2 separate regions of the Homo sapiens genome follow, and region 2 is linked to region 1. The links are contacts of gene promoters, found by promoter capture Hi-C in human tissues and cell types (Jung and others, 2019). All regions are on one chromosome and are shown on one strand. Each heading gives the region's core, a stretch centred on a gene start or on the middle of the fragment in contact. The rest is flanking DNA. Distances are from core to core; before and after follow the strand shown.

Region 1 (5,548 bases), core at 1-2,500:
TTCTTTTTTTTTTTTTTTTTTTGAGACGGAGTCTTGCTCTGTCGCTCAGGTTGGAGTGCAGTGGTGCAATCTCGGCTCACTGCAAGCTCTGCCTCTCGGGTTCACGCCATTCTCCTGCCTCAGCCTCCTGAGTAGCTGGGACTACAGGTACCCGCCACCACGCCTGGGTAATTTTTTTGTATTTTTAATAGAGACGGGCTTTCACCATGTTAGCCAGGATGGTCTCGATCTCCTGACCTCGTGATCCACCCACCTCAGCCTCCCAAAGTGCTGGGATTACAGGCGTGAGCCACAGCGCCTGGCAAAATATAGGTATTCCTAATTATGTGTCTGGAGTTGGTTCCTTCCGGTGGGTTTGTGGTCTTGCTGACCAAGAATGAAGCCACGGACCTTTGTGGTGAGTGTTACAGCTTTTAAAGATAGCACGAACCCAAAGAGTGAGCAGTAGCAAGGTTTATTTTGAAGAGGGAAATAACAAAGCTTCCACAGCATCGAAGGGGACCCCAGTTGGTTGCCACTGCTGGCTGGGGTGGTCAGCTTTTATTCCACCTCCCATTTCCCCTTAATTGTGCCCTCCCGTGTTCCGTTTTTGTCCTATCACAGTGCCCTTTTTTCAATCCTCCCTGCAATTGGCTACTTTTAGGATCCTGCTGATTGGTGCATTTTACAGAGTGCTGATTGGTGCATTTTACAATCCCCTTGCTAGCTACAGAGCACTGATTGGTGCGTTTTTACAGAGTGCTGATTGGTACATTTTACAATCCTCTTGTAAGACAGGAAAGTTCTCCAAGTCCCCAGTTTACCCAGGAAGTCCAGCTGGCTTCACCTCTCAATTATATATTGATCACATATTAAAACAATAATATTTTGGATATAGTAGGCTAAAATTATCACAAACAATCTCACTTGTTTTTATTATTTTCGATGTGGCTAATAAAAAATTGAAAATTCACTAATAGCTAACATTTTATTTTTTAGAGGATTACTTCCTTCTTAAAATCTCATGTGTCCTACTCAAAAGACCAGAGGCCAGAAAGGTTATAAAACATTAAAATAATTGTCATTATATTGTTTCCGTTTGTGAACAAGTTTGTGTATGCACGCGTGCATGTGTACGTGTGTGTGCATGTGCGTGCATGCATGCGTGTGTGTATAATTTATATTATAAATGGACCTAACCTTACATACCACAAGGTTAAAAAAATGACCACTGGGCTGTACCAAGCCAAGCACAGAGATAACACCCCAGCCTGGGCCGGGCGTGGTGGCTCACGCCTTTAATCCCAGCATTTTGGGAGACATAGGCGAACAGATACCCTGAGGTCAGGAGTTCAAGACCAGCCTGGCCAACATGGTGAAACCCTGTCTCTGCTAAAAATACAGAAATTGGCCGGGTGTGGTGGTGGGCACCTGTAATCCCAGCTACTTGGGAGGCTGAGGAGAATCGCTTAAACCCGGGAGGCAGAGGTTGCAGAGAGCCGAGTTCGCGCCACTGCACTCCAGCCTGGGCGAGAAGAGCCAGACTCAAAAAACAAACACAAAAAACCTGCCTCAAAGTACCAGGAGGCCAGAGCCTGTCACTCTCGCCTCATTCAGTGCTGTGTATGGTTGCAACTTCTGTCACTCAAGGCCTGAGGCGGGAGACTTACAGCTCTATCCAATTAGAGCGCTGGATTGACAACTGCCGAATGAGGCGCGCAGCAGAGAGGAGGGTGCGGCATCCGGGATCTGGCGCGGCTTTTGCTTGTAGCTCCAGCCAGAGCTCGGTTAGGGCCTCATCGCTCTGCTCCCGCTCCTTAGGGAAGCCTCGGTGATTCTGCCACAGCCTCAGCCTCTGTGGCTCTGTGACCTGCCGGTATTGGATGATTCGTATCTAAGACTCTGGGACACTCCTGAAGTCGGGAAATGGTGAGTGTGCAGGGCAGGGCGTCCCAAGGCTGTGGAGGCCTCATCGGAACCGGCGGGAAATGGCGGCGGTGGGAGGAGTCTGTGAATGGAGTTCCCGCTCAGCCCTCTGTCCTCAGTCCCCTCCGGTGAGGGACCCGCGCTCTTGTCAGTCCCCGTACAGCGGCTCTGGCCCAGCCTGCAGCCCTCCTTGTGCAGCTCTGCGCCGGTAGCCCTGCACTTTCCCCGGGCTGTGGAGTGAGTAGGAGCTCATCCGGAAGACACCGCGGCGGCCTGCGCGGTGCCGGCGTGGGAGGAGCTGTGGTCCGGAATCCCGTCCCTACTTTACCCTGTTCAGAATGAGATTGAGGCCCCATCAAAACATGGAGTTCATGTGAGCAAACAGGACTTATTAATGGGAAAGCTCTGCCGTGGCTCGTGGTTTGGGGACTGCCAGCGGGTCTTGAAGGAAAGGCTTTTGTGAGGTGTGTGAGGAAGCGAAGCAAATCACCTGCCTGCGCCAACTTTGCCGCCAGTCCCCTTGCCCTGTGCGCCTCCTCCGCGTGGCTGTTCCTGAATACGCTGGTGTCTGTTCGCATCTTTTAGAATACGCTGGTGTCGGTGCGCACAGCGCTTCTCTTAGTTCTGTGAGTAGTTCTGCCACATTATTGAACTTGAGGAGGGTGTGGGCGTCCCTGGTTTGTAGGCAGGGGTTCAGAAATGAAGACGGGTGTCCAGAGGCAGGGACTGGCGTCTGCAGGAGAGCAGCTGCGGGAAGAGTGCTGAGCTTGTGGGGTCAGCGCTGACTCTGGGTGGTGTCGTTAGTGAGTTGCTGGACACCCCGTTGGGGTTGGAGCATTGACTGGTGTTGAGGAAACTCCGCAAGTTTTCTGTCAGAAGAAAGACATGGCCGAGTCTGGGTTGGAGGAAGTCACCTGGTGTCCGCAGGAGGCGCGGCCGGGTTCTGCACAGGCGCTGTCCCGCTGGGCACTGTCCTCTTCCTCCAGGCCTCCTCCCGGGGAGAAAGGGGACTGGGAACTTAGAGGAAAGCAGTTCTAAGAAACATCCCTTCCCCGCATCCTGCTGCCAGCCCCCACCCAATGCTAACCCACTCCTGAGCACGCCCACTGGGCATTCGCACGGCCACACCTGGCCTAAGACAGGGTTCTACCCTCAGGAATTGTGCCCATGGCAGTTTTGCTCCTACAGTTTTCTGCCAAAAGCACACGCAGTGCCCAGAAGACTCCTGGCTCATCTCAACCCCAGATCTGTTTAGCAGGAGCCCGTTTCCTTCTCCAACCCAGGCTTCTGGACCATCTGATCTTAATCTCCTATGCCTTTATGGACTCAGGAATCAGTCAGTGCGTAGCCCTGCCTGGGCCTGTACCTGTAGCACAAACCAGTCCTTTCATCAGTTGTGCCCTGCCCCCACCCCATGGCTCTTGATAGCTCCTTGCTGTCTTGTGCTTTTTCCTTCCCCACAAATCCTCTTTTCTGTGCATACAGTGTGCCCAAGTTCATCCCTTACGTGCCTACAAGAATTCAGACGTTAGGGAATTCAAGACCATGCCTTAGACCTGGCTGTTGTAGGAGCAAATACAAATTAGAAGAGGCTTAATGATTTCTCTTTAGAGTGAGGGAAGAATTTTTGCTCTTCTCCCTTTTCTTAAAGCATTTAGGTGGAAAATTTTTATAATTATTTTCACCAGTTTTTGAAATATATGTAAATCATTTTTATCAGTTAAATAGGTCATTTGTCTTTTTTGACTCAGACTTGTCTTTATCTAGGACTTGGGAACTATTGCTTTGAAATGTGAATAGCAAGAATATATCCCACAGTTTCTGTAGGAGGGTGGGAGGCTGCCTTCAGCAGGTACCTGGCTCCACATTGTGGGTCTACGTCCTGTCATGAAGATGTGGGAAGTTTATTTTTCTTTTGAATATTACCAATTAGAAAACCCAGATTACCTCCCAAATTACTAGGTGAAATAATAAACTGTGTAAATGGTGCTTTCAAGTCTTCTACTTAAGAACTAATGGTGACTTTTTTTCTGTGTTTGCAGTCTCTTAGTAGATTGCCTGTGATGCACATCACATTTTGGTTTAATTATATAACAAAACATTTTCTTGCTGTTCTATTATGGTGGAAAATTTTTTTAGGATTGGAGATAATTTTTCTCTTTTTTTTTTTTTTTAAGACGGAGTCTTCGCTGTGTCGCCAGGCTGGAGTGCAGTAGTGCGATCTCGGCTCACCGCATTCTCCACCTCCCAGGTTCAAGCGATTCACCTGCTCAGCCTCCTGAGTAGTTGGGATTACAGGCGCGCCACCACACTCAGCTAATTTTTTTGTATTTTTAGTAGAGACGGGGTTTCGCCATGTTGGCCAGGATGGTCTCCATCTTCTGACCTCATGATCCACCGGCCTTGGCCTCCCAAAGTGCTGGGATTATAGGCGTGAGCCACCGTGCCTGGCTGAAAATTTTTCTTTTAGTCATATTTTCCATGCACTGTTTAGAAGTACTGGACGTTATATACAAAGTGCCCACCAGGCTTCACTTGAGAGAAAAACCTTTCTTCTCAGGATTCCAGCCACAACCCACAATTGTATGACAAAGTGCAGCAAGGTGCTCCCCAAATCTGCAAACAAAATAGTCTCTCTATTTGGGATCTACAGTCCCTTCTAGAGCAGTTAGACTAGATTTCTACAAAAATCACTTCAGGACAGCAATCAGTTATTTCACCTCCTTCAGTGCTCCTGTCATCTTCAGATCTGACACGGATTCAGAGATCACGGGGCCCATAAACCCAACCAGGATCATACATGTGCATTGATTAAACTTGAGAACTTCAATTCTCTCCCTCCTCCCTTTGCCCAAATGCCCGCAAATGTGCATAGCTCACCAGCCCTCCAAGACCTAAATGTGCAGTTCCAAATTCTGAATTTATTTTCTGGGATTTGAGAGAAGAAAAGAACTTTTATTTGAGAAATACATGTTCTTTTAATGATCAGACCCAGAGACTGGTTAAAATGAGACCACAGTGATGTACTGTTCCCGTCTTTGAACTATTTGTCTTTTGAAATTGCTTGCTATTGGCACAAGTGGCTATAAATTAACCTAATAATGCCACACTGGACACTATAATCCACACCCAATAGCTTAACAATGTATATAACCAATCACTAACCAATGTTACTTCTGTAAATAAGAATTCCTGACAACTTTCTATCCTGCCTTCCTTTTTGCCTTTACAAATATACTTGTAATTGGAGTGTATATTCAGGTAGCTTTATACTCCAGGATTGCAGTCTTCAAGCTTTGGCCCCAGAAAACTCTCTACTTATATTATGTTTATCCCAGTATTTCCTTTTAGGTCAAAATATTCTTAAGAATGTGTTGAAGGAGCCTCCATGAGGTGATCTCTCCTCTGGTTTTACTCTGCTTACTCTAACCCCTAAGAATGTAGAGGCACATTGATCCCACCTAGAATCTGCATACAAAAGTTGGCCTCTGCCTGGGATTCCCAACACTGGACCAGACTTTGGGTTGAAGACATACGAAAAACTCACAGAAGACATTTTCTGCATCATGAGAGGTCAATGTAGACATCTTAAGCCCCATTTTTAGAGTGGGGCCCTTTGAGTTTTCCAGATCTTGTTCAGTGA
Region 2 (5,832 bases), core at 1,389-3,888, 500 kb after region 1:
CTCACAGGTGCGTCTCACAGGTGCGTCTCACAGGTGTGTCTCACAGGTGTGTCTCACAGGTGCATCTCACAGGTGCATGTCACAGGTGCATCTCACAGGTAAGCCTTACAGGTGCGTCTCACAGCTGTGTCTCACAGGTGTGTCTCACAGGTGTGCCTCACAGGTGTGTCTTTTTGACTGTGTCAAGTCCAACCCAATCAGGGTCCCCCAGCATCATCAGTAGGTATGTAGGGAAGTGAGATGGGGAAAAGATAGAACCAATAGTGTGCCATGGAGCAGTTACCTCTGGGCCCCTGCAGGTAAGGGAGCTGCGGTGTTCACACACAACTCCCATGGTCATGGCTCAGGGTTCCCCAGAGGCTGTGGACTCCTTGCCGCCCTGAACCTACTCACCTACAATCACGACGGGCTCCTGGGGCAGGACAAAGCCACAGGTGAGGAACGCGGTGCTGCGGGTGGAAGCTGCTGTCACAGTCGTGTTAGGGTGAGTGGACTATGGCCGCAGACTGTGGGCTCCTCCCAGCCAACCCTCACTCCCGCTAGCGCCCCAAATCTTCAGTCCAGCACCCCTTCCCCGTCCCACCCACTCTCCACACTGAGCCCTCCCAGCCAACCCTCACTCCCGCTAGCACCACAAATCCTCAGCCCAGCACCCCTTCCCTGTCCCACCTGCTCTCCACACTGAGCCCAGCCACTCCACGCTCCCTTGGGCAGGTGGCAAGGCAGAGCCTGAGGTCAGCTGCCACCCCCAGCCCCACCCCAGGGCCCTCATGCCCCCAGCAAGGCCTCTCCAGCTCTGCGGTCCCACTCAAGATGCGCTTAGCTCATTTCACACGCAGGTGAGTGTCTCAGTTCTGCGGGCACGGAGGCCCCTGTGGGAGGGAGGTTGGCAGGCCCCTCGCTGACGGAGGGGAGCAAGGGGCAAAGTGGGGGTGTCCAGAAGGGGGTTGTGAGGAACTGGGGGACGGGAAAGAGCCCGGAGAGGAAAAAGGAGGTGGGGAGGGGCTGCGTGTGCATAGACCTCAGGGTGGGGCAACCGAGGACCTGAAGGCTGGTTTCCGGCCGCCATCCTCACATCCAGGCGCAATGTGAGCTCATCCCTGGGAGTTGGGAAATGCAACCGGCAGGCTCTGGAGGCTGTTCTGGGACTGAATGCAAAGCAGGCGACCCTCCCCCCGGCCCCAAACCCAAGCACTGCAGCGGCCCCACAACCCCTCCCCCCACCCACATCCCCACTCCCCCGTCCCCAGTGAGAATTCACTATTTTTAGGAAAAAGGGGAAGCCTCTCAGCAGATCCTTGAAAGGAAGTGACTTTGTGACTAAGTGGAGGCAGGAACATCATGGCACAAGGGCACACGTCGCACACCCAGCTGGGCCCACTGTGGACGGCGCAGATGCTGCCTCAGAGCAGCCTCCGAGACAGGCAGCTGCAGCGGTGCAGCCCAGGGCCCTCGCAGAAGCTTCCCCGGGGCCTGGCCTCGTGCTGAGAGAACTCTGCGCTCCTGAGGGCACCTGGCTGTCATGCACACGTGCTCACACGAACACACACACCTACACGTGCGCACACTCACACTCCGTGCACACACGTATGTGCACACTCATGCACGCGTGCACACACGTCTACCAGCTGAGTGCAGTAAAAGAACCACATGAAAACCTTGCATCCTGGTTAAAAGTATGGTGACAACATGGACAGATAAACTGGAAAAGATGGGAAGAAACCTTAAGCCCAGGATCTGGCAGCACAAAGGTGCCTGGAAAGCGACAATCAGCGTTTTTATATTCAGGGAAATCAGGAACACTGCCACCCGCCCGCCAGGCCGGCGCCCATGCCAGACCCAGCCAAGGTGCTTCTGGCCACATCACCCCTGCTGGCCTGCAGGGAGCTGGCCCAGGAGCCGAGAGGCCTATGGGAGCAGGCAAGGCTTGCTGAGGTGACAGCGGAGAGGAGAGGTCGGGCTTTGTTGCCAGGCAGCCCCCCAACATTCAGGTCCTTTTTCCACTGAAAGCCATGTGGCCTCAGAGCGGCGTCACCCCGAAGCTTGTCCCAGCCGGGGCCTGACAGCAGGTAAAGGCTGACTAGCAACTCTGCATCCCTCAGAGTGTGGGGGAAGGTGGATGTGGTCCCACCTCCACATCCAGGGTCCCCTTGCTGGCCTCTGGGCATTTGGGTCCTGGTGTGATTACCCAGCCCCCTCTCCCTGCACAGGGGTGAACTGCATCTCCTGGAGGCAGGGCCAGTGCCCCACCACCTCCCCAGCACACCCGAGCCCAGGTCTGGGCTCCCAGGAGGGCCTGGGGCCACCTGTGGGACCAACCCAAACCCTCAGGCAGCTCCACCAGCAGAAAGCGTCATGCTGTGTGTGGGATAACCTCCTCAGGGGATTAGTTCTCAGGGCCTGGTCCGCTAGAAGCCAAATGCCTGTGCCCAGCCACCCGTGACGCCTGCAACAGGCAGGAGATCCCCCAACAGTTACTCCCAGCCTTCATTCCACAGGGTCTGGTTTTCCTGGAAGGTGGGAAGTCCCAGGGTCTGAGGAGAGGGAGCGCAGGCCCCCATTTGTAGGAGTGAGTCAGCTGACCCGCCCCCGGGGTTCCTAATCTCACTAAGAAAGACTTTGCTGATGACAGGGTTTCCTGGGAGTCCATGCGTGCCTGGAGCAGCAGCGTCTCCAGGGACAGGCAGCCACCATGAGCCTCAGTGAGGAGCAGGCCCGGAGCTTTCTGGACCAGAACCCCGATTTTGCCCGCCAGTACTTTGGGAAGAAACTGAGCCCTGAGAATGTGGCCGCGGCCTGCGAGGACGGGTGCCCGCCGGACTGCGACAGCCTCCGGGACCTCTGCCAGGTGGAGGAGAGCACGGCGCTGCTGGAGCTGGTGCAGGATATGCAGGAGAGCATCAACATGGAGCGCGTGGTCTTCAAGGTCCTGCGGCGCCTCTGCACCCTCCTGCAGGCCGACCGCTGCAGCCTCTTCATGTACCGCCAGCGCAACGGCGTGGCCGAGCTGGCCACCAGGCTTTTCAGCGTGCAGCCGGACAGCGTCCTGGAGGACTGCCTGGTGCCCCCCGACTCCGAGATCGTCTTCCCACTGGACATCGGGGTCGTGGGCCACGTGGCTCAGACCAAAAAGATGGTGAACGTCGAGGACGTGGCCGAGGTGGGTCTGTGCGGAGCCTCAGGGAGGCGGCTGTGTGCATCTCTTGCACCTGTCCCAGGTGTCTAAGGGTCAGCTCGGATCCTCAGGCCTCCAGGGAGGCCTCTTGTCAGGGCACAGGCTAGTTCTGTGCTGAGGAGCAAGTACCTAGAGCCCCCTCCCGGCACTGTGCCCTGGCCGCCTGCCTCTCCGACTCGGCTTCTGGCTCAAGCTGACATCGCATGGCCACTGAGTTGGTTAGACCTGAGTCTAGGAGCCTCGGCTGAAGCAGACTCAGGCTCAAACCGGGGTGCCCCTGATTCTGCATCCACATCCCATGGTGGGGACCATGTAGTCCCTGTGAGGACCCCTGGCTTCCAGGAAGACTGACCAGATGGGGGCTTCAGGGCTCTCTGGGCTGGGAGGGAGGCCCTGCCTTGGGATTTGGGAAGAAGAGGTCACAGTCGAAGGTGGTGCAGACGCCCACAGGGAGGGAGAGCCAGGGGAACCCCAAACTTCCACTGTGGCAGAAGCAGCTTTATCCCATGGGAGCCCACGCCAGCCGCCAGGGGAGAACAAACCTGGTAGCCACTGAGCACAGGGGTCCAGGGTGGGACTGGGGAGGGACAAGAGACAGAATCGAGACAGGCTCACTGGAGTCACTGAAGGAGGGAAGGGCAGGGCCTGTTCATGCAAAGCCTGGGCTAGGGCAGACGCTTCCCGAGGACAGAGGCGGTCCTGGCGGGACTGGAGAACAAGAGGGGTGTGAGGTGCCTGCCAGACTGGGTGAGGGCAGCGGCCAGCAGAGACCTGGAAAGGCCCTGAGGAGCTGCCCGGCAAGGGGGCTCTGAGGAAGAAGGGGAGGGGGGAAGCCCCTTCTCCCTGTCCTGCACCCGTCCCAGCTTCCTCTCCCCTTTTCTGTCCCCACAGCTAAGGAGGCTGCAAGAGGCCCAGGCAGCCTCCGCTCTTGCTGGATGAGCCTTGGGAATTACCCACCAGGCTGCCAGCCCAGGGGCAGGTGTGGTCCCTCCTTCCCAGGCAGCTGGGGAGTGGCAATCCTGGTTTGTTTTCGTTTGTGGGTTTTTTTTTTTTTTGAGACAGAGTCTTGCTCTGTCACCAGGCTGGAGTACAGTGGCATGATGTCAGCTCACTGCAACCTCCGTCTCCCACGTTCAAGCGATTCTCCTGCCTTGGCCTCCTGAGTAGCTAGGACTAGAGGTGCCCGCCACCACACCCGGCTAATTTTTGTATTTTTAATAGAGACAGAGTTTCGTCATGTTGGTCAGGCTGTTCTCGAACTCCTGACCTCAGGTGATCAACCTGCCTCAGATTTCCAAAGTGCTGGGATAACAGGCGTGAGCCACCGCACCAGGCCGGAAGTGGCAATCCTCTTATCCCAATGGCAGTAAGCAAGCAGCAAGGCAGTGACCTAGATTCAGTAATCCCCGGGTTACCTTCATCTCCACCTCCCTCCTAAGAAGTGGGGCACCCACAAATCAATCGTGCATCAGGAGCATGAGTTACCAGGAAGCCAGGAAACTTCACAGCAGTGGGGCCTGGGGTGGACACCAGCTGCTCCTCCCTCCCCCCGTTCCCTCCTCCCTCCTCCCCTCACTCTCCTGCCACCCTCCTCCCTCCTTTTCTGCCATCCTCCCCGTCTCCCTTCCTTCCTCCTGCACACAATCCCCAAGACAACTTCTCATCCCCACCCTGTCCCAAATCTGGGCTGTGTCTTTCTTGCCCCCAGGAGTTTGTCCCCCGCTGCCACCACCCCTTCACCCCTTTGTCCCCACCCGGCTGATGGTGTCTCTTCCCTGCTCTGCGGGTCCCCCTCAAACTGCTGGGCTGTCCTAGGTCCGTCCCTCGGCCTGGCCTGTTCCCCAGGGCTGTTCTAGGTCCTGCCACCCCCACCCCCAGTGCCATGGCCGCACCTGCCCCAGGACTGACCTCCGAGGCCTCTCCCCTGCCCAGTGTAGCTGGTGCCATTCCAAGGGGCTGGGCATGGTGTCTGTCCCTCCATTCTGTGGAGTCTTAGTTATCTCAGACTAAGGGAACAGAAACTTGAGTCTGAATTGCCACCAAAAAAAGCAAATCTTCATGAAGTGCAAATCCTCATGAAGTGCAAAGCCTCATGAAGTGCATCTCAGCACCCTAAGCACTGCCAAGTGGCTTCTGGGTTCATGTCTCAGTTTACAGAAGGGGGGACTGAGGCAGAGCACACCTCAGTCTGGCCCACTGCACCCTCTTTGGAGGGCGTGAGCCGCACCGGCCAGTTCAGGAGAGCAGCTCGTGGCTGTGGTGGAAGAGTCCCTCAGACGGGGCGTGGGTGGCCAGCACGCAACACCCGGGCCACCCGGAGTCTCACCCTCCTGCCCGGGCCACCCGGAGTCTCGCCCTCCTGAGCCTTGTCTCCCTGTTTACATTGGGGAACTAATGTCTGCCTCTCAAGGGTGCTGCAGCGGCTAAACCAGCCTGCTCCTGAGCACAGCGGGCCCTGAGTCTGCAGGGCAGGCAGGCCCCGGGTAACCCGCTCCTCCCTGAGCTGCAAGCGTCCATCCTCCTGGAGCTGAGGGTGCCAGCCCAGGGTGAAGGCTGCAGTAGCCTGGCCTGTGGGCCCTCCTGTCCCCAGGGGTCTGTCCCAGGAGCCACCATGGAGGGAGGGGCTGCCCAGGGCTCACACTCTCGGGCCTACAGGG

What was found. Contacts are between HindIII fragments. The study calls those that stand out against the background at their distance.
Region 2: the fragment with the promoter of PDE6B here is called in contact with a fragment that was not itself captured in region 1 in 2 of the 25 tissues and cell types used here (dorsolateral prefrontal cortex and lymphoblastoid cells).

What each region holds. Positions count from the first base shown.
Region 1 is chr4:122,766-128,313 of GRCh38, forward strand. ZNF718 (zinc finger protein 718) reads left to right here and starts at 1,736. Exons shown (of 4, transcript NM_001039127.6): 1 at 1,736-1,908. The coding sequence starts at 1,906. It overlaps LOC124900641, which reads right to left and starts at 2,826. Exons shown (of 1, transcript XM_047416469.1): 1 at 439-2,826. The coding sequence starts at 2,483. The coding sequence ends at 2,007. RefSeq lists enhancers at 1,721-2,160, 2,451-2,650, 2,911-2,970. The HindIII fragment of the contact is 5,599 bases long and covers 1-4,050 here.
Region 2 is chr4:622,935-628,766 of GRCh38, forward strand. PDE6B (phosphodiesterase 6B) reads left to right here and starts at 2,639. Exons shown (of 22, transcript NM_000283.4): 1 at 2,639-3,160. The coding sequence starts at 2,693. RefSeq lists enhancers at 335-1,325, 2,315-3,304, 3,305-4,293. The HindIII fragment of the contact is 19,693 bases long and covers 1,752-5,832 here.